Regions from separate parts of the Homo sapiens genome. Here regions 1, 2, 3, 5 and 6 are each linked to region 4. The links are contacts of gene promoters, found by promoter capture Hi-C in blood cells and fetal thymus (Javierre and others, 2016). All regions are on one chromosome and are shown on one strand. Each heading gives the region's core, a stretch centred on a gene start or on the middle of the fragment in contact. The rest is flanking DNA. Distances are from core to core; before and after follow the strand shown.

Region 1 (4,003 bases), core at 1,431-3,930, 4.7 Mb before region 4:
AGTACAAAAAAAGACAGAACATTCAAAAATTGTAATAAAAGAAAAACCAAAAACAAGCTAAAAATAAATTGCAGTATAATTTTAAAAGGCATCATATGCATATTATTTGAAGGAAAAGAAAGAGAATGAAGGAATAAGATTTGAAGTAATAATGACCAAGAAATCTAAAACATTAACGGCAAACACTAAGCCACAAATCAAGGACATTCAAAAAACAAAAAGCAGGAAAAATAAATAAATAAATGCACACACACACACACACACACACACACACACACACACACATACACACTCCTCCAAAGCATATAAAATTCAAACTGCAGAAAACTAAAGATAGGAAGAACAACTTGAAAGTAGCCAGATCTAAAACAAAAACAAAAAACTTACCTATAGAGGAACAATTTTAAGGATAAAAGCAGGCTTATCGAAAATCACACAAGCAAGAAGAGGGTAAAGTGAAATACTTAAAATATTTAAAGAAACTACCAAACTAAAATTCTATAATCAGCAAAATTATCCTTGAAGAGTGAAGAAGAAATAAAGAATTTTATTGGCAGCAGAACTTCCTGCATGAAATGTTAAAAGATGTTCTTCAAACAGAAGGAAATGCTATGTCAGAAATGTGTATCTAGAAAAGATAGGAATAAATAAATAAAGATAAAATAAAATATTTTGTTTTACTTTTTCTTAAATGACCAAAAAAGTAACTATTTGTTTAAAGTAATAATAACAATTTATTTGGTGATTCAAGCATATGAATAAAAGAAATGAATGCTAGCAACATCATAAGGAATGGAAAGAAGAATCAAAAATACTTATTAAAAAATAAGAATAATATGAAGTTTAATCTTAGATAACAGGTGCAGTCAAAACTACAAGTCAATAACAGAAATTTAGCTGAGAAATTTCCAAGTATCTGAAAATTATATAATATACTTCTAAATACCATATGGGTCAAATAAAAAGTCTCAAGAGAACATTTACATAGTTTAAAATAAAGGAAAATTAAAATGCAATTATTAAACTTGAGAATGCAGTGAAAATAGTGCTTCAAAATTCATAGAATTAAATGCATATCTTGGAATAGAGGAAATATCTACAATCAATAACCTTTCTACTATAAGAAACCATAGAAATAAGGGCAACTTAACCTAAAACAAGCAGAATAAAAGAATTAATAAAGATTAGAGCAGAAGTAACAGAAATCAAAAGGAGAGAAATAATAGATAAAAATCAAACAAACCAAAATATTTTTCTTTGCAAAGTTCAGTAAAGTTGACAAAATTATAGCCAGGCTAACCAAGATAAAAAAGAGAAGACAGAAATTATCAATATCAGAAATAAAAGAGTCATTACTACTGAACCCATGGACATGAAAAGAATAAAAAAAAGATTATAATGAACAATGTTATGCTAACATATTTGATAACAAAGCTTAAATAGCTAAACCTCCTGAAAGACAAACTATCAAAATTTATACAAAGGAAAATGAGAATTGTCCTGTATTTATTAAATAAATTCAATCAATATTTCATAACTTTAAAAAAAGAAAGCCTGAGAAACAGATGGTTTCAGTTAATGAATTCTACCAAACACTTAGGAAACAAATAATGCCGTTTCTCCACAACAGAAACAGAAGGGCCACTTCCTAACTTATTACATAATATCAGCATTTCCCTCCTACCAAAAGCAGATAAAGACATTAAGAGAAAAGAAAACTACTGACCAATATCCTTTAAGAACAGAAGCAAAATTTCTCAACTAAATAATAACAAATTGAAGAGAATGTATAAAAACAGTAATACACTACAACCCAGAAAGTTTATTTCAAGTATGCAAGGTTAACTCACATTCAAAAAAATCAACTAATGTAACAGACCCAGAAAAATTATGTGCCTGTATCAATTGAAACGAAAAAATTATGTGACAGAATCCATGCCCATTCAGCATGAAAACACACATCAAAGTAGGAATAGAGAGGGCCTTCCTTAATTTGGTGTTTTAAAATTACAAAACCTCCTACCGCTAGCATCATACTTTGTGGTGGGTGTCTGGAAAATTTTTCCTTAAGATCAGGAACAGACAAGGATGTTTTGTCATTACTTTTCAATTTTGTATTGGAAATACTAATTGATACAAAAGAGTAAGAAAAATAAATAAAAGGTATACAAATTGGAAAAAAAGAAATAAAACTGTCTTAATACACAGATGACATGATTTTCTATGTGGAAAATCAAAGCAACTATGAACAGCAGCAACTTAGAATAAATAGGCAAGTGGCTGGGCTCAGTGGCTCACGCTTGTAATCCCAGCAATTTGGAAGGCCGAGGCAGGTGGATCACCTGAGGTCAGGAGTTCGAGACCAAACTGGCCAACCTGGTGAAATCCCATCTCTGTTAAAAATACAAAAGTTATCCAGGCTTGGTGGCATGCGCCTGTACTCTCAGCTACTCAGGAAGCTGAGGCAAGAGATTTGTTTGAACCCAAAGGCGGAGGCTGCAGTGAGAATTAATAGGCAATTATAGAAGTTCACAAGATGCAAGGTTATTACACAAACGTCAAGTCCATGTTTACATACAAGCAAAGAACAATTGGGATTTATAATTTTTTTTAAAAAGAGGCATTTATTATAGCCTCCCCCAAACTGAAACAATGAAGTATTCACATACAAATATAACCATACATATATATTTAGGATCTATAGACCAAAAAACACAAAACAATGATGAAAAAATCAAAGAGTTGTGTAAATATATGGAGAGATGCCTCGTATTTACAAGTTTAAAGATTCAATATTCCCTTTTTTTTTTTTTCTCTTGAGACAGAGGTTCACTCTGTCACCTAGGCTGGTATGCAATGGCGTGACCTCGGTTCACTGCAACCTCCACTTCCCAGGTTCAAGCGATTCTCCTGCCTCAGCCTCCTGAGTAGCTGGGATTACACGCAGCCACCACCATGCCCAGATAATTTGTATTTTTTTAGTAGAGACAGGGTTTCACCATGTTGGTCAGGCTGGACTCGAACTCCTGACCCCGTGATCTGCCCGCCTCAGCCTCCCGAAGTGTTGAGATTACAGGTGTGAGCTACCACGCCTAGCCAAGATTCAATATTCTTAAGATGACAATTCTTCCAAACTCTCTCAAGTGATTCAATTGAATCTCAAAGAAAATCTTAGTACACTATTTTGGAGATATTGATAAGCTGATTCTAAAGTTTTATTGGGGTTCAGAAAATGACAACCCAAAATATGGCAGTTTGGCATGCTGAGTGCTTTGAAAAAAAAAATGTTGAAAGGCCTCAGAAATAAGCCTCAGGACCATGGCCTCTCTTTAATCTCTGCCCCCCCTTACCCCTTCCTTTATTGAAGCCTCAGGAAAACCCTTCTCTCAAGTTCCCTTATCTGATTAAAAAAGTTCCTCCAGAAGTCATGAAATTGTCTTAAAACACACTTCCTAGAAATTTCAACAGAAAACAGGGAAAGATTAACCACTGGAGAAGAGACTAGATCTGAAGTCATCACCACGCTCAGAGAGATTTTTCATCTAGACTTCTGAGGGAAGCTCCAAGAGATTACCAGGGACACTATCTGCATAATAAGACAAATTTTGTTCATGGTGAACATCTCATCACCTTCTCATAACTTGCCACCACCTCGCCCAGATCTCAAAAGAACTTTGTCTTTTTTTAGGCTAATTCATTTCTCTAAACATCATTGCCTATACTCTAAATTGCCTGCACTCCCATCTCCCTCTCCCCTATGAAGAGTGTTATTTAAGCTGCAGCCATCTGGCCCTTCTTTGAGACTCATATTTTCCATGGCTCCCATGCTTCTGCACATTAATAGAGTTATATGACTTTCTTTTGTTAATCTATCTATTGTCAGTTTTTTTCAGCAGCAAATCCTCAGAGAGCAGAAGAGAAGCTTTCCTTTTGCCTCTATAGGAAAAATTAAAAGGCAGAAGATCCAGAATAACCAACACAATCCTGCAGGAACAGAGGAATA
Region 2 (3,774 bases), core at 400-2,899, 3.9 Mb after region 4:
CTCTGATCTTTGGTGTCATTACCAGTAATTACAATAGCCCACTACCCTTGTAAAAATTTTTTTAAGAAAGTAATTACCAGGCTGGGCGCAGTGGCTCACACCTGTAATCCCGGCAGTTTGGGAGGCCGAGGCGGGCAGATCACCTGAGGTCAGGAGTTCGAGACCAACCTGGCCAACATGGTGAAACTCCGTCTCAACTGAAAATACAAGACTTAGCCGGGCATGATGGCGGGTGCCTGTAATCCCAGCTACTCGGGAGGCTGAGGTGGGAGAATCACTTGAACCTGGGAAGCAGAGGTTGCAGTGAGCTAAGATCGCACCATTGCATTCCAGCCTAGGCGACAAAGCCAGACTCTGTCTCAAAAAAAAAAAAAAAAAATTAACTACCATGATTAATGGAAAGATATTTTGTGACCCATTCTTCCTTACACTAACATATTACTTGGAGGAGTGCAGGCCACTCCAGGATTTTTGTTAGATTTTTATTTGGATCACCATCAAATTTGATTACCATTACAGTGGTTTAAACCACATGGGCAGTGTCACTGAACAGTTGCAGCCTCAATCACTAGACAAGGCATAACCTAAGTAAGGCCCTTAGGATCTCAGGAGAAGCATGTGATTTGTATCAGCCGCATTGATAGAAGGTGGTGCTGATCTGTGTGTTTGCACACCTATGAGGGAGGTCTGCGTTTGGGAGTTGGTGTTGATGTCATCAGGCACGTGGGAATAGTTCAAGACTGGCCGTGTCCATGTGAGTTTTTGTTTTCTTTTTTTATTTTCTTTTTTATACTGACCTGCTAGATAAAGTTTTTATGTTTTCATAGTGAGATGACAAACTCAGCCACAGGTCAGATTGCCAGCCACAGTTGCTGCTTGACCTAGATGGACCATGTGAATGTTTGCCAGGCTTTGGTGCTGGATAGGGACAAAGAGAACATTGTTTCCCTTCTCTTTACATCTCCAGGGTCCTGTGGTGTTCCTTCCCCAGATGCCAGGATTGTTTCTTTCCTTCCATTGCTACATAATGAGTGTGTCCTACCCTAGTAACTATAACTTCACCTTTTCTCCATTTATCCCCTACCAATACGCAGGCCTTCTAATATCCAATTGTTAGAAAATTGACAGAGGCCCATTATGTCTTCTACCTTGACACATGTGGGCCACTGTAGGGGGACTTTAAAAGCACTATACCCAACCAAATGATCATTAACTTTATGTTCTGGCACCAGGCCATTCCAACAAGACAATCTAGTGACTGAACTAGAATTAAGTCTGAATTACATAGATAGCCTCCTCCTCCCAGCTGATCTGGGCTTTCTGTAAGGGGGAAGAAAGATGAATCATGGCCAGAAATGGTCAGGGGAGAATCTCACATTTTCAAAATAGGTTTATATAACCCTCCACCCCTTTTTCCTGATCATTACCCAGTTGGTAGGCAAAAGGAGATGACCCATTTCTGAGAATGGCTGCCTTAGGTGACCAAACTGCTTCAGTAAGGTTTGCAGACCAGGAGGAGGTTAAAAACATAGAATCAAAAATCTTTTTGAGTTGATCTTTGAGGGAACTGTTCAGTACTTGACAATGTCATGCCTGTGGATGGTAGGGAGTGTGGGAGGTCCATCGAATACCTTGGCTATTGACTGTTGACACTGTTGGGTGGCCATTGCGACAAAAAGATATGCCAGTGTCAGACTGTAGATGGTTTGGAAAGCAGAAAACCTGGCAGTTTAGTTTCAAGGGCCACAGTGGTATACACAGAGTCAGATAATTGGACTGGAAAAGCAACATCAGCACTGTAAACTGAAAAAGTATCAGCAGTAGCAAGGTACTGATGAGAGCCTAGAGAAGGGAACAAAGTCCTAATGTCAATCTCCCAGGAGCAGGTGTGGTCAGTGCCCCTTGCAATGTGGCTTCCTTTACTGCAAGACAAGCAGGCCAACTTTTGGCAGGAGTCACAAGTCTGGCACGCAGTGGTGGCTTCTGCCTCAGAAACATGTAGTCCCTTACGTTGTGCCTAGCCCATGATGGTAGATGTTTCCACACCGGTTGCATGAATCCAGGTGGCTATGGCAGCAGTCTTGGTGGTGCAGGCTGGATCAGCAGTTTGATTCCAGTCAGTCTTACGAGAGTACCTGCCCTTAGTGTGGGCACCTACGTGAGTGATCCAGTCTGTCCTATTGGCAGGCAGCCATGATGTGTTTCCACACTTCTCAGCTTTCATCTCTCAGTATTTAGTCTTCCAAGTGGCATACCAAATGCTTCAATCCTTACTGCCATCAGCCATCCAGAGTTATCATTGGGGCTAAGTGCCTGCTGCTGCTTGGTGGGCAACATCAGCTTTTAACTCAGCCTAATCATTGGTGAGCCAGGCCTAAGCATTTACAGGAACCCCTGTGAATCAAGGGCCCTACTGAACAGCAGCTCGGCTTCAGGTAGCAGAGAAGGTTGTTTCTCCCAGAGTGGGAGCTGCCACTTCTTCACGTAAAACCAAGATGCCTCTAGGGCCAGGCTAGCTATACTCTTTTTTTTTTTTTTTTTTTTTTTTAGAGATGAGATCTGACTCTGTTGCCCAGTCTGGAGTGGAGTGGTACAATCATAGCTCACTGCATCCTCAAACTCCTGGGCTCCTCCTGTCTCAGCCTCCTGAGTAGCTGGCACTACAGGCACGTGCCACCATGTCCAGCTAATTAAAACAGATTTTTTAAGAGCTGAGTTCTCACTATCCTGCCAAGGCTGGTCTTGAACTCCTGACCTCAAGCCATCCTCCTGCCTCAGCCTCCTGAATAGCTGGGATTACCAGCTGTACTCTTGAATGTACTATTTCCATAGGATCAGTGAGGCTTGTTAAACCCTTCCCTTGTTATCAGTAGATTCCCATTGACCCACCCCAAAGTGGGAATACTAGGCCAGGGAGTCCTGAGGCCTTTATGGGTCTGGCAATCAATTTCAAAGTGTTGAGTAGTTAACTAAGGAGTTAATAGCTGTCCTTTTAAAAAGGGTGTGCTTGGTACCTATGTCCAGCAGGTGGCACTGTGATTCTGGTGCATGGCTCTCAGTACTCCAGCAGCCACAAAGTTGTTTTTTGTTTGTTTGTTTTTGTTTTTTGAGATTCTCGCTCTGTCGCCCAGGCTGGAGTGCAGTGGCGCAATTTCAGCTCACTGCAACCTCTGCCTCCTGGCTTCAAGCAATTCTCTGCCTTAGCCTCCCGAGTAGCTGGGATTACAGGCGCCCCTATCACGCCTGGCTACCTTTTTGTATTTTTAGTAGAGACAGGGTTTCACCATGTTGGCCAGGCTGGTCTCAAACTCCTGACCTCAGGTGATCCGCCCGCCTCGGCCTCCCAAAGGGTTGGGATTACAGGCATGAGCCACTGCACCCAGCCGCCACGAAGTTTTTAAGCCTGTGATTTATTTCCTTTCCCTTCCAGGGATGTAGATTTTTTTCTTCTGGACCACCAGGAGAGGACAGGATCACCTGTCTACACACAGCAGCCCTTGCCCAGGATAATCCTCTTCGACACTTATGGGATCAGTATCAGCTATACATTCAGCACTGGAAGCCACAGGAATAGTACATTGAAGAGGCCCAAAGAGCTCTGCCTGGAATGTCACTTTAACTTCCCTTCCCTACAGGGAGCGTGGCTCAAACATTACCAGTTTAATCTGGACACTTTTTCCCCTCGAACTAATGCGTCTAGAAGGCCTGCATCAGGGGCTATGGTGACAGCCAGCCAGAGATTTTGCCATTTCCCAGTCGGAGAGTGTGGCGGTG
Region 3 (4,077 bases), core at 1,548-4,047, 3.8 Mb after region 4:
GATACCTGTTTTGAGGGTGCTGATGTAAATTCCCATTGCTTCTCTTAGAAGTTTCACCCCTTCTTCCTTCATTAAGGCCACGAGATTTGTGTCAGGCTCATCTTTGGCAAGGCTCACACTAATCTGGGTGAAAGATGAGAAGTAGGTGGTAAATAACTTGAGGGGCACCCTCATTATGGAATGTGGGGGCTGAGCAATCAGGTGACTGCTGACATTTCCAAAGGAAATGCATGAGTACTGCGGTATTCGTACAATCCCCATTAGTGTTCCTTCTTGAGTCCTCTCTGTCAAGTGGCTAATGTTAGTTAGAACCCATGTCACTAGCTAAAGTGAAGAAATTAAAGAAGTGCAAATTGCTCTAGAAGTTTCCAATGGCACCATATGCCTAGAAAATTATCTGCAGGCTAGGGTTCTGAATGCTTGGACCAAGCCTGGGCTATGAATCCTGAATGACAGGTCACTTTTCTCATCTGAGAATAAGAGGATATAGAGGACTCGGATTAGGAGTTATGAAGCACAAACCTCCACTTCATCCACGCTGTTTTCATCAGACAAATTGGGGATCTCCACATGTCCTTTGTATTGTACTCCTGACTTAGAAGTACCTGTCAAAACCAATGCAATGTCATTAGTCCACTCCTTGGCAGGAAAGGTCTCTGCTCCAGGGTCCTAACTGCTACCTCACTTCTGCTGCTTTTGGATGGCTGAACTGATCCTCTTTATTCTGAGAATGCCACATGCCAGATGCAATCAACACCCGCACCCCCAAAAGAAATGTCTTTCCTCACCAGGTTACTGGAAACCAACTATGTTATTACAATGTGAGACAAAGAGCTACAGATTTGGTACTAGCATGAGTTATACCATGAGAACTTGGGTCAAAAGCCAGTAGTTCTGCTAGAATACTTGTTTTGAAAATATCAATTTATTTCAGTGCAACTGAAATATTAGGGAACAATTTGATTATAATGAGAAGTTCATGTTTGCTTATATGTGACTCCATCCATGAGAAACACTAGGTGAATACGGAAAGCCTCACCCAGCTACACAGGATACATAAAACACACACATCTCAAACACCTATCTGCCAATGACCTCAGTTTACAGCGTGTGTTGTGAGCCATACCCATCCTCAACGAGTGTAATGTTCCCTCTGATTGTGGATGACTCTCCTTCTACCATTCCATAGTAGTCCTCAAGCTGCAACCCTTCTGATGCCCACCTTTTCCCCCCGCAAGACAGAGTCTTGCTCTGTCGCTCAGGCTGGATTGCAGTGGCATGATCTTGGCTCATTGCAACCTCCACCTCCCAGGTTCAAGCAATTCTTCTGCTTCAGCCTCCCAAGTAGCTGGGATTACAGGTGCGTGCCACTACACACGGCTAATTTTTGTATTTTTTAGTAGAGATGGGGTTTCACCATGTTGGCCAGGTGTGTCTCCAATTCCTGACCTCGTGATCCACCTGCCTCAGTCTCCCAAAGTGCTGAGATTACAGGCGTGAGCCGCCGCGCCTGGCTTTGATGCCCACTTTCACAAATAAACTTCAGGTCTTTTTCATGGTAAAGCACCATATTTATTGTAGTATTCACCTATTTTTTATTTTTTTTGAGATGGAGTCTCACTCTGTTGCCCAGGCTGGAGTGCAACGGTGCGATCCCAGCTCACTGCAACCTCCGCCTCCTGGGTTCAAGCGATTCTCCTGCCTCAGCCTCCCGAGTAGCTGGGACTACAGGCACATGCCACCACGCCGGGCTAATTTTTTGTATTTTTAGTAGAGACGGGGTTTCACTGTGTCAGCCAGGATGGTCTTGATCTCCTGACCTCGTGATCCGCCCACCTTGGCCTCCCAAAGTGCTGGGATTACAGGCGTTAGCCACCACGCCCGGCCTATATTTATCTATTTCTTACCATTTAATGTGCACAAAACTATGCTACCAATTTTTAGTCCCTATATTAAAAAAAAAAAGCGTCGGCCAGACACAGTTCGAGACCAGCCTGGCCAACATGGTGAAACCCATCTCTAATAAAAATACAAAATTAGCCGGGCGTGGTGGCGGGCACCTGTAATCCTACTTGGGAGGCTGAGGCAGGAGAACTGGTTAAACCCGGGAAGTGGAGGTTGCAGTGAGCCAAGATCGTGCCACTGCACTCCAGCCTGGGTGACGAGCAAAACTCTGTCTAAAAAAAAAAAAAGGAGGTCTGAGCAAGATGACACCGAAGATTCCTTCCACACTACTATGCTTCGAGTGTACTTTAAAAACAAATTAACAAAAATCATGGACAGATAGATCTACTTGCACCCTTCTTTATGATATGACTGTTCACTTCGGAAATGTTTATCAAAGCACAAATTTCATGCTTTGCCCCATACACAGACAGTAGCTATCTCATACTCCCTTAGCTTTAGTGCCTTTTTACATTCAGGCTCCCGACAGTCAGGACTGTCCAAAACGGTCATACGCATGACCTCAATTTTTTCCTAATGTCATACACAAGGGACATAAAACTAGAAGATAGATAAAACAGCCCCAAATTACTGTCACACACAAGCTTCATTAGCGCAGTGGTTTAATCTGTTAAGATTCACACTGAAGACAGTGCACAAAGATCAAGACCAAAAAAATCCTCTCCTTCCTCCTTTTAAATCACTCACAAGATACATGTAGCTAGTCTGAAGAAATATCATCGTAGGTGTCCCAACAAAGACCAAGGCCCAAAGATGCAGTGGCCCGGCCACTTCATGGATGGGACTTATGAGACCCAGACACAGGAAATCCATTTAGCATCCCACAATGGCAAAGAAATTCCAGGACTCGATACTGCTTTACATAGGACTCCAAAGCAGCAACATCTGCCTTCTCCCTTCAAGGTCTGTAACTCCTCAAAACTGTTCTCTCCAGCTACTTAACAGGTTAAACAAAACACAGTTAATCTCTCTGACAGCCCAGCTTAGACTTACCTGTCCAGTTTAGTTTGACGCTCCATTCATAAAAGAAGATAAGTTTCCCTTTGCGATTGTTAATGGATGCCTCTCCATCAAGCTTACTCACTTCCGTCACCTCACACTTGCCTTCTTCATTTTGAACCTGCACTGCCAGGAACAGTGTTTTCAGCTTATCCGTGGACCAATTTGAAGCATCTCTCTCCGTCCTGCAAAGCAGAAACAGAGCTATGAACCAGCAGTCAAACGGAGGATACGCTGCTCTATGCAAGAGAATACGAGGTTAAAGGAGGCCTGACAAATAGTTTGAAAAGAACACAAAAACTCCCAGTCGCACTCCAGTATGTCCACAAACATGTCATTCTTTTTTAGGAAGACAAGGGGTTGCACACTGTCAACAAAGACAGCTGCTGTAGAAAATGGTATAAACTCAATGGAAAATTATGCTCTCCTTTCTCGGCATGATGGTGCGGGGGAATACTTGATACTTTAACATGGCGCCCCCATTTGACCAAGTGGAAAACTGCACATATTGCTGAGATCAGGAACACAGACTGGACCATGAAAGAATAGTACTTAGCTAAAAGGCCCAGAAAGGATTAAACCAATAACCCTGACCTCATTGGCACGGTGTTCTGACCTATCAGATTCGCACTTGCATTATAAACTTCCTACACATTCACTGTCCCCTAGATGGCCACAAAAACGTTAAGTCCAGGGCTTCAAAACAAACAACAAAAATTAGGTCAAGTACTCTGCATGTTAAGAAGAGAGAATACAAAGTGAGATATGGAAAAGAAACATCACTATCTGCCTTCCTACTTATCAACTATTAGAGAAAACAACAGCAAAAAAGGCTGCAACAAAGTAACGGTACAATACAAACATTACGAAAAAAGTTCAGTGGAATTCAAAAATAAGGAAACTAATATTACTTTGGGAAGATTTCATGAAGGAGGGCAGTTATTTTAAGAACGGTCAGGTTATAAAACCACGGCTGCTCGGCAACCTGGAGTTCCAACACACCCGACCTGATAGTTCCGGGTGAGAGGCCGCAGCTATCTGAGCTCTGAGCACCTGCACAACACGTTCTCAATCTCCCGCGGGACCGCTGCAGCGGTCCCCTATGAATGACTT
Region 4 (3,791 bases), core at 982-3,481:
AAGAATAAAAAGTTCAGATAGAAACAATTTAAATATGATGCTAAATGTAATCTTACTTGGGAGAAGTTTTCTCTCACAAATTTTGTTTTGTGAATTAAAGGGCTGCAGCTTCCAAGTATTCAGTCCTACAATTTTGGTATAACAGAAAATATTTCTTTCCGAAACTAAACTGGATGGCACACATATGTTGCAATGAAGGCATATAACAGCTATTGAGGGACTGGAAAACCAATATATTGGAATGGAATCCATGATGGCTAGATGCCAGACACACAAGCAATCTAAGTTCCTGGGTAAATATTAACCAAGTGCTTAGGTCTTGTTGCAATCTAGGTGTAAAGAGAGAAGCCAACTCAGAGCCTCCAGGGAGTCTGATGGTCTTAAGGAGGCCAAGACTAGGTTTTCTGCCATTTTAATCCAGTAACTACAATCCATTATTTCACAGATTAATTCTGTGAAGAGCAAACCTCGTAGCTTTTCTTCCCTGTCCTGTCTGCAGTGGTTTTAACTTTAATTGATGGCGAAACTACTCAACCTTTTAGTCAAGAATATCAATAGTAGGGGGGAAAACTAGGTGGAAGGTGAGGGATTCCATGTGCAAAGCGTTTGGGAGTATGTAATAGGGAGGTAACAAGAAGTCCTCTCAATATGTAGTAAAACTTAACAGGAATGGTATTGTTTAGTGTAAATTTTCGGGCTGTCACCTGAATATTAAATGAATTACAAATGTTGATAGAATCATAACTTTATATAATATACCAAGAACACTGATTTCCTGTGATTTTTTTCTTTAAGTGTCCCAGACCATGCAGCTGTGCAGGAAACTGGGAAGCAACTGTTAACAGGGGAATGGACTTGGCGTGAAAAGAAATGTCAAGGTTCATAGATATCCTCTACACCCATTCACAATCTCCCATTTTCTGAGTATTCAAGGCCTCTGGTTTCTCTAATCCCTTTCTTCAAGTCTTGGCAAGATGCATTTTTTTTCCTCTTTGGTAAGACGCCTTTGATATTCTTCAAATCTGGTTTCACCAGCACAGAACTTTGACGTTTCGTTTTGCTTTGTCTCTGGAAGACAAACTCCCTCACTCATCCACGCGACATTTCAAGTCCCTCAAAATTCCCAGGGACAAGAAAACTAGGTACTATGAATTCTGCCTTCCAAACAGCATTCTCTGTTCTGCTTGCAAGGTCGATATAAAGGCAGGATTTGCTTGGGCAGAACAAGTCAAAAGCTTATTGAATTGCACTTATTGAATTGAACATGGAACACAGCCGGCTTGCTCTCTTATAGCGAGAGGCCATGCGAGTTGGTGGGTCAAGGGCATGCATTTCAAAGTGATCAGTCACTATACGTTGGCCACATGGAGTCGCAGTATTTTGGCAATATTTTTAAAAACCAGGGAAAGTTACTGTGCTGTTACAATCCAAAGGCTGGTGGGGTTTTCTTCCACCCCGCATTTCCACTAGCGTGATAAATTATTTAAAGTACGTGGCCTAGTAGAGGACTAACCTCTGGGTAACATAAGCCTAGTCTTCGCAGCGTACCCACTGTGGAAACAAACGAATCAGACGTTACTAATTGTGGAATGTTAAAAGTAGGCCCCGATCGGCTTTTACTCCCTTTGGAAAATCCTACACAATTCTGCGCGCGAAAGACCCACCCTCGGTGAGGCGGTGAGGCGCGAACGCCGCGAAGCTCACAGTCAAAGCCTCGCTGACAAATCAAGAGATGACTCCGCATTTAAAACCTTCCCGAATAGGAACGCGCCAGAGGCCGGAAGCCACGCCACGTGACCAGTCCTCCTCCGCGGCCATTCCTAGCGAGGCAGTAGGCACCGCCTCTGTCACATTTCCTAGCTCCTAAAGCGCGGGACCAGGCGGAAACGTGCGACAGGAGGCGGTCCCACCTAGCTTTGGACTGGAGTGTCAGTAGAACTCCCGTCTTTTCCAGCAACGCTTTGCAAGTTCTTCACCGCAAAGAACTGCCGCAGACTTCCGCCTGGGTGCCAACCACGTGATCACGCGAGCGTTGGAGAGGCGTAGGTCCGATTTCACTACTTCACTCCCCGGGCTCCGCCAGTCCAGTACCCGCCACGGCGCGTGACAACGCGGCTCGCCGGCGGCCTCCGCCCCGGCGCGCCTGCGCACGCGGCTCTCGCGGTGTCTCGCGCTCAGCCCCGCCCACCTCTGCCCCCGCCCTTTCCGCCCCTCCCTCCCCCTTCACCCTGTCTCTCGGCGGCGGCGGCGGCGGCGGTGGTGGCTCGCGCAGCTTGTTGGCTCGCTATATAAAGGAGAGAAGCGGGCGGACCGGACGGCTGGAGCTGCAGCCGGTGGCGGCAGCGGCGGCGCAGGGAGCGGTGACCGGTGGTGGTTTCCCTCCTTGGCGCGGGGTGGGGAGCGGGCAACGCCCCCCGGACCCCTGAAGGGTCGTGGCTTTTTTTTTTTTTTTAAGGCGATTCTCGAGGTTTTCAGCTGCGGGAGGAGTGCCCCCCTCCTCCTCCTCTCTCCGCTCTCCCCTACTCCTTCAGGATTGATTTTGTTTAAAATTTTTTCCCCAATCTTGCGGTGATTTGGGTCACCCTCCGGGTGTTATAGTTTTTTTTTTTTTGGTTTTGTTTTTATCTTGTTTTCTTGGGGTTGCCCCCTCTTGTTTGTGTTGTGTGTGGAAATGGCGAACTCGGCAAATACAAACACCGTGGTAAGGACGTGGTTCGGTGGCCGGCGGGGGCTTCGTTCAGGCTGCAGCAACGGCCGGACCGGGCGGGGGCGGGGACGGCGGCGACTCCCGGCCTCGACTCTTCAGCCGCCCGCGCGGCCGCCGCCGCCGCCGCTTCCCGCCTCGGGCGGATCGGGCCGGAGCGCCGGGCGGCGGGCGCGGGGGGGCGCCGAGGGCTCGCGGCGCGGGGAGGGCGGGGGCGCCGGTGGGGCCTGGGGCCGCCGCGGGCCGGGCCGGGCCGCGGAGGCGGTTGGGCCCGGTCGGGCGCGCAGCCCCGGCCCCAGAACCCGGCCGCCGGGAGGGAGGGCGGGAGGGGAGCCGCCGCTTCCCCCCGAGGGGCCCGTCCGCGCTGGCTTGACGAGGGCTCCCCGAGTGGCTACAGAACAAAAACTGTGTGTGGGGAATCGGGCGAACCCCCGAGACCCATCGTGATCCACTTTAATGCAGTGGAAGATTAATGGTTACTTTGGGGGTTTCTTAGGTTGTTTTTGGCGGCTGTGCTTTGGGAACCTTCTCTGAGGCCATTTTATGTTTAAAAAAAGGACGAAGGTTGGTTGAAAAGCACTTATCTCAGTTCCTTCCGAATGGGTAAAATGGCGAAGGGGAAGACCCCCATCGTATCTTCGCCTAGCAGAAGCACCAAAACAAACAAAAAAAGCCTGCAGTGGTCCAAGTGTCCCCGCTTTCGCCTTGAAATTTACCTACTTCTTCCCGTTGGTCCCTTTTTGTTACTTGCGATCACGTAGGTTTGCAAAAAGCAGTCACATAAATAACCTTTTCAGTCACCAACGCAGTGTGATCACTAGTCCACCCAACTCTTATTTTTATGATGACAATAAAACACGTTTTTTGCCCGGTCCCAAATGCCGCAGACCAGCCCGCGGCCGCCCGACACCGTACCGTTGGCGACTCGGGTCTAACCATCATGGCTGCGGCCGCTTACCCTGCTTTTCAGTCCCTGAGCCTTGTGGTCCTCCTCCCTTTGGCTGCCCTGTTTATATAGAGCCATTGCCGCTCTCTAATATAGACTCTGCCAGGATGGGAAGGTGCTTTTCAGGCCTACGTCACCGCC
Region 5 (3,881 bases), core at 288-2,787, 3.8 Mb after region 4:
AACCAAGAATGTTCCTTGGGTTAGAGCAATGGTTTTCAACCAGGTACGATTTTGTATCCCCAGGGCATGGCAATGTTTGGAAACATTTTTGCTCGTCACAACTGGTGGCAGCTATTGCTGACATCTAGTGAGGATAGGCTAGGGATGTTTGCTAAACATCCTGCAAGGCACAGGGCAATCCCCATAACAAGGAGGTATCTGGCTCCAGATGTCAGTGGTGCTGCTTTTGGGAACGCTGTGTTAGAGTTAAGCTGGGCTTCCAAAGCAGTGTGGAAATACTATATTTGGCCTGGACCAGAGGCTTGGGCGTAAACCCCAAAAAACTGCTTTAAACTTGGAATTCGTTTGATTGGATCCTTCTGCCATCTTCCTCTAGAAAATGATACAATGAGTAAGCAATAGAGCTCTAAGAAAGAATGAAATTTAATGAGATTTCTCTCACCCTTTCAGAGAGAAAACAGCAGTAAGAAATGGAATTGGATATTCAGGTGTTCTGTTAGTCCATTTGGAATACCTGAGACTGAGTAATTTATAAGAAAAGAGTTTTAATTGGCTCATGGTATTGCAGGGTGTACAGGAAGTGTGGTGTTGGTATCTGTTTCTGGTGAGGGCCTCAAGAAGCTTAGAATCATACTGAAAGGGGGAGCAGGTATGTCACATGGCGAGAGTTGGGAGTGAGAGAGAGAGAGACGGGAGGAGGTCCCAGACTCTTTTAAACAACCATATCTCAGGTGAACTAACTGAGTGAGAACTCACTTATCATCAAGAGGATGATGCCAAATCATTCATGAGGGATTCATCTCCACGATCCAGTCACCTCCCACCAGACCTCACCTCTAACATTGGAAATCACATTTCAGCGTGAGATTTGGAGGGAACAAACATCCAAGCCATATCAGGTATTGTTGAGTTAAGGGTTTTGGTTTTTTGGTGTATCTTATTCCTTCAAAGCAGGAATGTGTCATTATCCAGAATAACCATAACTTGTTTTTTAAAAGTGTTCTCTGCAGAGAATACCTATTGAGTGTCTTCATGTTTGTTAGCTGAGGTTTTGGTGAAAAGGAAGGAAAGGATTTATGTTCTTATGAACTAAGCTCTCCAGTGGTCATGGTGTTCTTATTGTTTTATGCATTGTAATTGTTTTTAATAGTCTTTTATTTGAGGCACCTGGGTTCTTCAGTTCCCCAGAGGAGAGATAAATCATTCTTTAATTATGAAACTATCTGAGGCATACTTGTTGCATCACTTAAAGGCAGGTTTTTTTGTTTTTGTTTTTGTTTTTTTTTTAAGTTTAAAGGAAAATAAAACTCTATTGTGATCCTGAAGTCAGCAGTAGAACTTAGTTTGGTGTGTATGTCCCCCAGAGCTATCAATACATTTAGATGTTGAGGATGGAAACAGGTCAGGTAAACTTGTTCATGGTTCTAAGGTAGAAGTTAGAATATTACAATAAGTCTTTTTGCAGTGATGAAAATATTTCATATCTGTCCCAGCTACTCAGGAGGCTGAGGCAGGAGAATCACTTGAACCCAGGAGGCAGAGGTTGCAGTGAGCCGAGATTGCACCACTGCACTCCAGCCTGGGCGACAGAGGGAGACGCTGTCTCAAAAAAAAAAAAAAAAAAAAAAAAAAAAAAATATATATATATATATATATATATATATATATATATATATATATATAATATCTGTGGCTATTTCAATGTGCATGAATTAAAATTCAAAATTTGGTGGCTACCATGTTGAATGGTAAGAATAATAGGGAGTCAATGACAAACAGCCTTGATGTTTTTTAGTTTTCTATTGTGGTTTTATGTCAAAATGTTAACATTTTGTCTGCCTGTGGCTTTCTTTTTCTTACAGTGGTTGTGTTTTTAGTGTCCAGATAGTCGATTAGTCAGATAGTTGATTATTCATGTCGTGATTCAGTCTAAACAGTATAACCAAAGGTGCACAATCTGAGTGACCTCTCAGGAGCATGTCCCACTCAAGGGCTGAAGAGAAATTGGATCACATGGTCACTAGATTTGGTTGGAACATAAACTCACTTAATTTGTTTTCGTTTAAGCCTCTTGAGTCTGTAACCACATAGCCTGCTTTTAGTTCTTCTGCACTGGAATCTAAAATGACAGGCTAATTATCTCTTTGCAGCCTGTTTACTGAGGGGGAAATCCTCTGAGGCCTGTTCTAAAGAACCCTGACCTGATATTCAAATGCTTTTGAAAAAAACCTGCTTTTTGGTTCTCCTTGTAGGGAAAGTACGAAGTACACAGTAAGTTTGAATCCCTAGCATGATCAGAATGTCTGAAACCAGACCCTTTGGTAATGTAGAAAGAAAATGCACATTTAAAAAGTTGTCAAATATAAAATAAGTTATTTTAAGGAAGTTCCTTTTTTCTCTCTCACCTTTGCTTTAGTGGCCATCAATGATAAATTAAGTTATTGTTAAGCTTCCATTTTTCCTCCTCCGTTCATTGTTTCCGAGATTTCGGCCACTGAGGAACCATGGTAATGACTTTGCCACACTGGAGAATACCGTTACAGTATTAGTTATTTACTATTTTTTCTTGACATTGACATTTAATTGACATTTTGATTGACACTTAAAAGTTTCATTCTAAATAATACCTACGATATTACTAGTTTGATATATCCATTTTTCTTAATATATACTAGAATACATATTTTTAAAAATAAAAAACATTTCCCCACATACCATCTAAATTTGCAAAGTCTGGCCTGATTTCTCTGATCTCTTCTAGGAATACTTTCAGAATTGGCTTATATTTGGCTAATATAATAAAAGCTATACTATAGGAAAATTGGCTTTTTCTTCTGCATAGTGGCTTAAATTTCACTGAAGAACTTCAGGAAACCTAAAAGGCTGTGCTCATAATTCTCTCTCACTGAAACAGCGCTGCATCTCCCACACTTTATACTTCTGGAAATAAAGTTATGTTTTTCTTTCTCCTTTTCTTACTTCCTGCCTCTCTGAATCCAATTATAAGTTGTTTTACCAGTAGTTCTTATGTAATTTAGGGCATTCTTTAAAATTAAAAATAATTTAGGGCATTCCTTTAAAGTTAAAAATCAAAAGCTCAACTCCTTATGGGATGGAAAGAAAAAAAATCAAAAGCATATTTTTTTCCAGTATACATTAAGTTGTTAAAATGCTATGAGAAGTGGTGCTTACCATGTGAAAAATGCTCAACCTAAATCATAATAAGGGAATTGGAAATCCTAACTACACTTGGTAGTTTGCTAACTCACTTTGTTGGTCGGTGTGCAGAAGCAGACACTCTCATGCTTTGCTAATGAGATTGTAAATTGGTACAGATTCTGTGGAGGGCAACTTGTCAATATCCATCAGAATTACAATATATGCCCCTTTGACTCATTCTTTCCAGGAATTATAGATTTATTTATTCTCCTGTTTAATGACATAGATACAAGGTTATTATGGCATTGTTTGTAATGGTAATACATTATGGAATATTCACCCAATGAAATACTAATCAGCTGTAGAAAAGAATGAAGAAGCTTTTCATGTGCAGTTATGGAAAGGTCTTTGAGATATAAGTGGAAAGAACAAAGTACACAGTAGTATGTCCAGCATGCTCCCCCCGACCTTTTTTTTTTTCTGAGACAGAGTCTCGCACTGTTGCCCAGGCTGGAGTGCAATGGCGTGATCTTAGCTCACTGCAACCTCCGCCTCCCGGGTTCAAGCGATTCTCCTGCATCAGCCTCTCAAGTAGCTGGGATTACAGGCACGCACCACCACGCCTAAGCATGCCCATTTTTTGTGTAAAAAAGTGAAAAAGTATACACACACACACACACACACACACTTTTTTTTATATGCATAAAACATCTTTGGAAGAC
Region 6 (4,063 bases), core at 333-2,832, 3.6 Mb after region 4:
TAGAGATGGGGGTTTCACCATGTTCGCCAGTCTGGTCTCGAGCTCCTGACCTCAGGTGATCCGACCCCCTCGGCCTCCCAAAGTGCTGGGATTATAGGTGTGAGCCACTGCACCCGCCAGCCTCCTTCTTTAACATCCATTCTAAGCTATTGCTATTTGTCCTTTTCACTCCCGGGTTCTATCTCCTTGTAGTGAACACTGTTAGGGTTGTTCCTCCCTTCTCTGCTATGATTCTTCCTTGTCTATAACTGATTCCTCCCCTCCAGCAGTTTGACCTTGTGCTCTGGCCATTGCGATTGGTCAGATTTACCCATCCTCACCATAAGCTAGGCCAATCAGATTTCTTTTTCCTGAGAGTGTAGAAGTTTGACCTCATGAATATGAAAGTTGTAGGTTGTTGAGAGCTAAGCACCAGAAGTGGTTTGGTTAGGAGGAAGGAAGGTCTATAATTTTCTGCTGCTGAGGTTTAGGATTTTCCTGAGTGCCAACACTTCCCTGTCTTCAGGAGAGTTCCAATAAATTTACCTTTCTTGAATAAGTTTTTTAAAATTGGCTTATGTTATCTGCAACCAAAGAACCTCAATTAACACAGTCTCCATGTGATAGAAGGTTCCTTGGAGACAAGGCCAAAATTTTTTTTTTTTTTTTTTTTTGAGACAGAGTCTCTCTCTGTCACCCAGGCTAAAGTGCAGTGGCACAATCTCGGCTCACTGTAACCTCTGCCTCCCAAGTTCAAGCAAGTCTTGTGCCTCAGCCTCCAAGTAGCTGAGATTACAGGCATGTGCCACTACGCCCGGCTAATTTTTGTATTTTCTGGAGAGACGGGGTTTCACCATGTTGGTCAGGCTGGTCTCGAACTCCTGGCCTCACGTGATCCATCTACCTCGGCCTCCCAAAGTGCTGAGATTACAAGTGTGAGCCACCATGTCCAGCCAAGGCCAAATTTTAATTCATTTATCCATTTATGCATTCATCAAACATTTATTGAGCATTTGCTATGTGACAGACACGTGGTAGGTACTGGGAACCCAAAGATAAATTAGACAATCCCCTCAACTCACCAAGCTTGTTGCCTAATTGTAAGTATAAATGTATTCAATCAATCATTCATTCACTTAATAAGTACTTCATTTATCCAATGAATAATTACCAACACTCATTTAATATTATGTAACAGGTCTTGGCACTAAATGCTTTTGTTAATTCTCCAACTCTATGAGGTATATCCCATTTTACAGAAGAAGTACCTGAGTCATAGAGAGGTTAGGCAGCTTTGCCTAAATCATAAGGATTCTAGGTGCTGAAACCGGTCTTCAATTATGGTATATCTGACTGCAGAGCTCTTGCTTCTAAGCATTGTGTAACCTCCCTCTCAAAGAATCTCAAAGCAGTGTGATACATGCTTACACAGGTGTGTATAAAGCTCACAGAGGAGAAAGCAACTAATTTTGTGGGGAGGTTGGGGTTCAAAACAGGCTTCACAGTTGAAGTGGTTTGAGCAATCTTGAAGGAAGAGAAGGGTTGTCTTCCTGGTGCCTAGCACAGAACTTTGCATATGAACACTGTAAAATGATGATTAAGCGGCTTATGTTTCTGGAAGGAGTTGTTTTCCTGTTTACATGGAGTCTGGGGTGTTTCCTACTGCCTACTGCAGCATCATTTTTGTGATTTAGCAATGGCATGTGAAGTAATCAGATCATCTGTATATCACTGATGCTCACAGAAGCCTGTAAGGTAAGTAGTACAGGTACACACTTTGTAAGATGAGTGAGGAAACCAGGGCTGAGTTTGCATTACTTGTCCAAGACTATACATAGTGAGTAAGTGGCGGAACAAGACAAGGGGCCAGCCCCCTGAGGAGGGATCGGCTAACAGGACTCCTCAAATCTAGCCAGACTCCTTTACTCCTCTTAGCCTGCAGGTGAGGCTTTGATCTTTCTAGACTCGACACCCGAGTTTCTGAAGGTTTCCTCAGAACACCCTCCCCATCCTTCTCAGTTCCAGCTCTCCAAGTCCCGCTCATCTTCCAAGATCTGTCTCATTGCACATCTTCCTCGCAAGCCTTCTCCAGAGTCATTCAGCTCACTCCCTAAGCTTCAGTTAAATCCCTTAGCCCTGCTTCCATCCAGATTCCTGCCCTGAAAACTTTCTACCTGGTTAGACTCATCACTGCCATTCAGCTTCCCTCATCAGAACTCCTGTTGCCTAATCTCTCCAGCCTTAGGTTGGTCTTTAACTATTGTTTTCTTTCTATGTGTATATCTTGTCTCTCACTGAAATGTAAGCTCCATGAAGCACAGCCACATGTTTCCTTTTTAGCCTTATACATACAGATGTATATTCACTTTGGGATCAATAGTGTTTGTCAACTCAAATAGGATGTGTGGGATGAATGATCCCACCTTCTGTTAGATTATTCAGCTCCTAAGTCATGCAAAACCAATACCTTGTGGACCTCCTTTCTAAAGCTCCTGCAGGGTGGGGAAAGAATGCACGGATTCTCATAGGTGCATTTAGCAATTACTAGTAACCAACACTTAATGAATGCTTACTAATTGCTAGGTCCTGTACAAAATACATTACATACATAAACTTATTCAATCTTCACGACAACTATTATTGTCCCCACTGAACAGATGAAGACACATAGAGGTCACTCAGCTAGTAAGTGGCGCAGCTAGGATTTAAAACCCAGACCGACTCCAGAGTCCATACTCTCAATTATGATACTAAATTCTTTATGGATAACAGAAAGTCTCTAATTGTAATGTAGATCAATTTCCTTGCTTTCTAACCCCATGGGAAGATGGAACTAAAAGGGTGAGAAAATAATATTTATTATACTCCTACTATAAGCCTAGTATTATAAGAGGTGCATAATGGGTTAATGATATAATTCTTGCTGTAAGTCTATGAAGCAGGAAGTATTAACTCCATTTTAAAGAATTTGGCTTCTAAAGTGGTTAAACACAGTGCTCAAGTTTTAGCTTCCAGTTATTGGCAGAGTTGGAATTAGACCAGGTTTTCTAACTTTGAAGGAAAGACTTAATTTAAAGGAGACTGTATAGAAAACCCTGCCAAGGGCAAATGTGAAGGGCACGTGAAAAGGCATCTGAATTATTACTTATAATAATTCAGAAATAGTGAATGTGTGGCGCATATTGAAGAATGATGAGAGATTGTCAAAAAATCTATTCTATAAACACTCACAGAGGAATCAGCTAATTAAATAAGCGAGCTGCCTGTCTTGGGCTAGGACATAAACTCCAAAACTTCCCACGAGGCAAGGGCAAAGAGGGCGCCACCTGTCCTGGAGAACCTGGGAACCCGCTCTAGAGACTTCGGCTCAGCCCCTTTTATTTCCTCACACTCTAATTGGCTACTTTTCCCTGGGCTCCGCCTCCTCCTCGGTCTGGACCATTAAACAGGCAAGCCCTACCCCGGACCTGGATGCGGCCTCCAATCAGGTGCCAGGCCCTGGAGTCCCTCTAGAGAAGCCCCCTCTCCACCGGCGAGGCGCTTTGCTCTCGTCCGTGATTGGCCAGGCAGCAGCATGGGGTCCGCCTCCTTCTCTTCCAGATTGGTCAGCGGTCCTCAGGACCACATCCCTCTCGGCAGGTCCCCGCCGCTTTTTCCCTTCGCTGCGTGGCCTTGGCCGAGACCGGTCCTCTGCGGAGAGGGCCCCGCCCTCTGTGAAGGCCCGCCCGGGAATTGGCGGCGGCGCTGCAGCCATTTCCGGTTTCGGGGAGGTGGGTGGGGTGCGGAGCGGGACTTGGAGCAGCCGCCGCCGCTGCCACCGCCTACAGAGCCTGCCTTGCGCCTGGTGCTGCCAGGAAGATGCGGCCGGAGCCCGGAGGCTGCTGCTGCCGCCGCACGGTGCGGGCGAATGGCTGCGTGGCGAACGGGGAAGTACGGAACGGGTACGTGAGGAGCAGCGCTGCAGCCGCAGCCGCAGCCGCCGCCGGCCAGGTACGAGGGGCCCGCGCGGCGGGGCCGGGGTGGCGGTGTGGACTGGCGGAGGGGCGGCCGGGCGGGGCGAGGTCTCCGGGCCATCCGCTGGGCA

The links. The method cuts DNA at HindIII sites, captures the fragments that hold promoters and counts their contacts. A CHiCAGO score of 5 or more calls a contact.
Region 1: a contact is called between a fragment that was not itself captured here and the fragment with the promoter of GTF2A1 in region 4, in 9 of 17 cell types (total CD4 T cells, non-activated CD4 T cells, total CD8 T cells and 6 more). The highest score is 15.1, in total CD4 T cells.
Region 2: a contact is called between a fragment that was not itself captured here and the fragment with the promoter of GTF2A1 in region 4, in 1 of 17 cell types (non-activated CD4 T cells). The highest score is 5.4, in non-activated CD4 T cells.
Region 3: a fragment that was not itself captured here is called in contact with the fragment with the promoter of GTF2A1 in region 4 in 2 of 17 cell types (non-activated CD4 T cells and total CD4 T cells); the score reaches 11.5 in non-activated CD4 T cells.
Region 5: a contact is called between a fragment that was not itself captured here and the fragment with the promoter of GTF2A1 in region 4, in 1 of 17 cell types (total CD4 T cells). The highest score is 6.2, in total CD4 T cells.
Region 6: a fragment that was not itself captured here is called in contact with the fragment with the promoter of GTF2A1 in region 4 in 1 of 17 cell types (naive CD4 T cells); the score reaches 7.6 in naive CD4 T cells.

What each region holds. Positions count from the first base shown.
Region 1 is chr14:85,938,309-85,942,311 of GRCh38, reverse strand. The region is part of intron 1 of LINC02328 (long intergenic non-protein coding RNA 2328); the gene reads right to left. Among named protein-coding and RNA genes, the nearest start is that of LINC02328, 5.6 kb to the right of the region's middle. The HindIII fragment of the contact is 2,488 bases long and covers 1,437-3,924 here.
Region 2 is chr14:77,315,341-77,319,114 of GRCh38, reverse strand. The region is part of intron 1 of POMT2 (protein O-mannosyltransferase 2); the gene reads left to right. Among named protein-coding and RNA genes, the nearest start is that of POMT2, 3.7 kb to the left of the region's middle. The HindIII fragment of the contact is 4,303 bases long and covers 1-3,774 here.
Region 3 is chr14:77,458,688-77,462,764 of GRCh38, reverse strand. It overlaps AHSA1 (activator of HSP90 ATPase activity 1), which reads right to left. Exons shown (of 9, transcript NM_012111.3): 2 at 2,959-3,149; 3 at 523-605; 4 at 6-123. Among named protein-coding and RNA genes, the nearest start is that of AHSA1, 2.6 kb to the right of the region's middle. The HindIII fragment of the contact is 491 bases long and covers 2,552-3,042 here.
Region 4 is chr14:81,219,399-81,223,189 of GRCh38, reverse strand. GTF2A1 (general transcription factor IIA subunit 1) reads left to right here and starts at 2,231. Exons shown (of 9, transcript NM_015859.4): 1 at 2,231-2,701. The coding sequence starts at 2,672. It overlaps GTF2A1-AS1 (GTF2A1 antisense RNA 1), which reads right to left and starts at 1,972. Exons shown (of 2, transcript NR_135252.1): 1 at 1,665-1,972; 2 at 1-1,551. RefSeq lists silencers at 2,067-2,366, 2,397-2,446, 2,977-3,096 and enhancers at 3,437-3,526, 3,567-3,636, 3,509-3,791. The HindIII fragment of the contact is 3,079 bases long and covers 1,238-3,791 here.
Region 5 is chr14:77,370,709-77,374,589 of GRCh38, reverse strand. All of the region lies in intron 1 of TMED8 (transmembrane p24 trafficking protein family member 8), which reads left to right. Among named protein-coding and RNA genes, the nearest start is that of TMED8, 4.4 kb to the left of the region's middle. RefSeq lists a silencer at 2,084-2,133. The HindIII fragment of the contact is 1,828 bases long and covers 624-2,451 here.
Region 6 is chr14:77,616,354-77,620,416 of GRCh38, reverse strand. SPTLC2 (serine palmitoyltransferase long chain base subunit 2) reads left to right here and starts at 3,780. Exons shown (of 12, transcript NM_004863.4): 1 at 3,780-3,969. The coding sequence starts at 3,838. RefSeq lists silencers at 3,354-3,413, 3,744-3,793, 3,934-4,063 and an enhancer at 3,453-3,985. The HindIII fragment of the contact is 1,029 bases long and covers 1,068-2,096 here.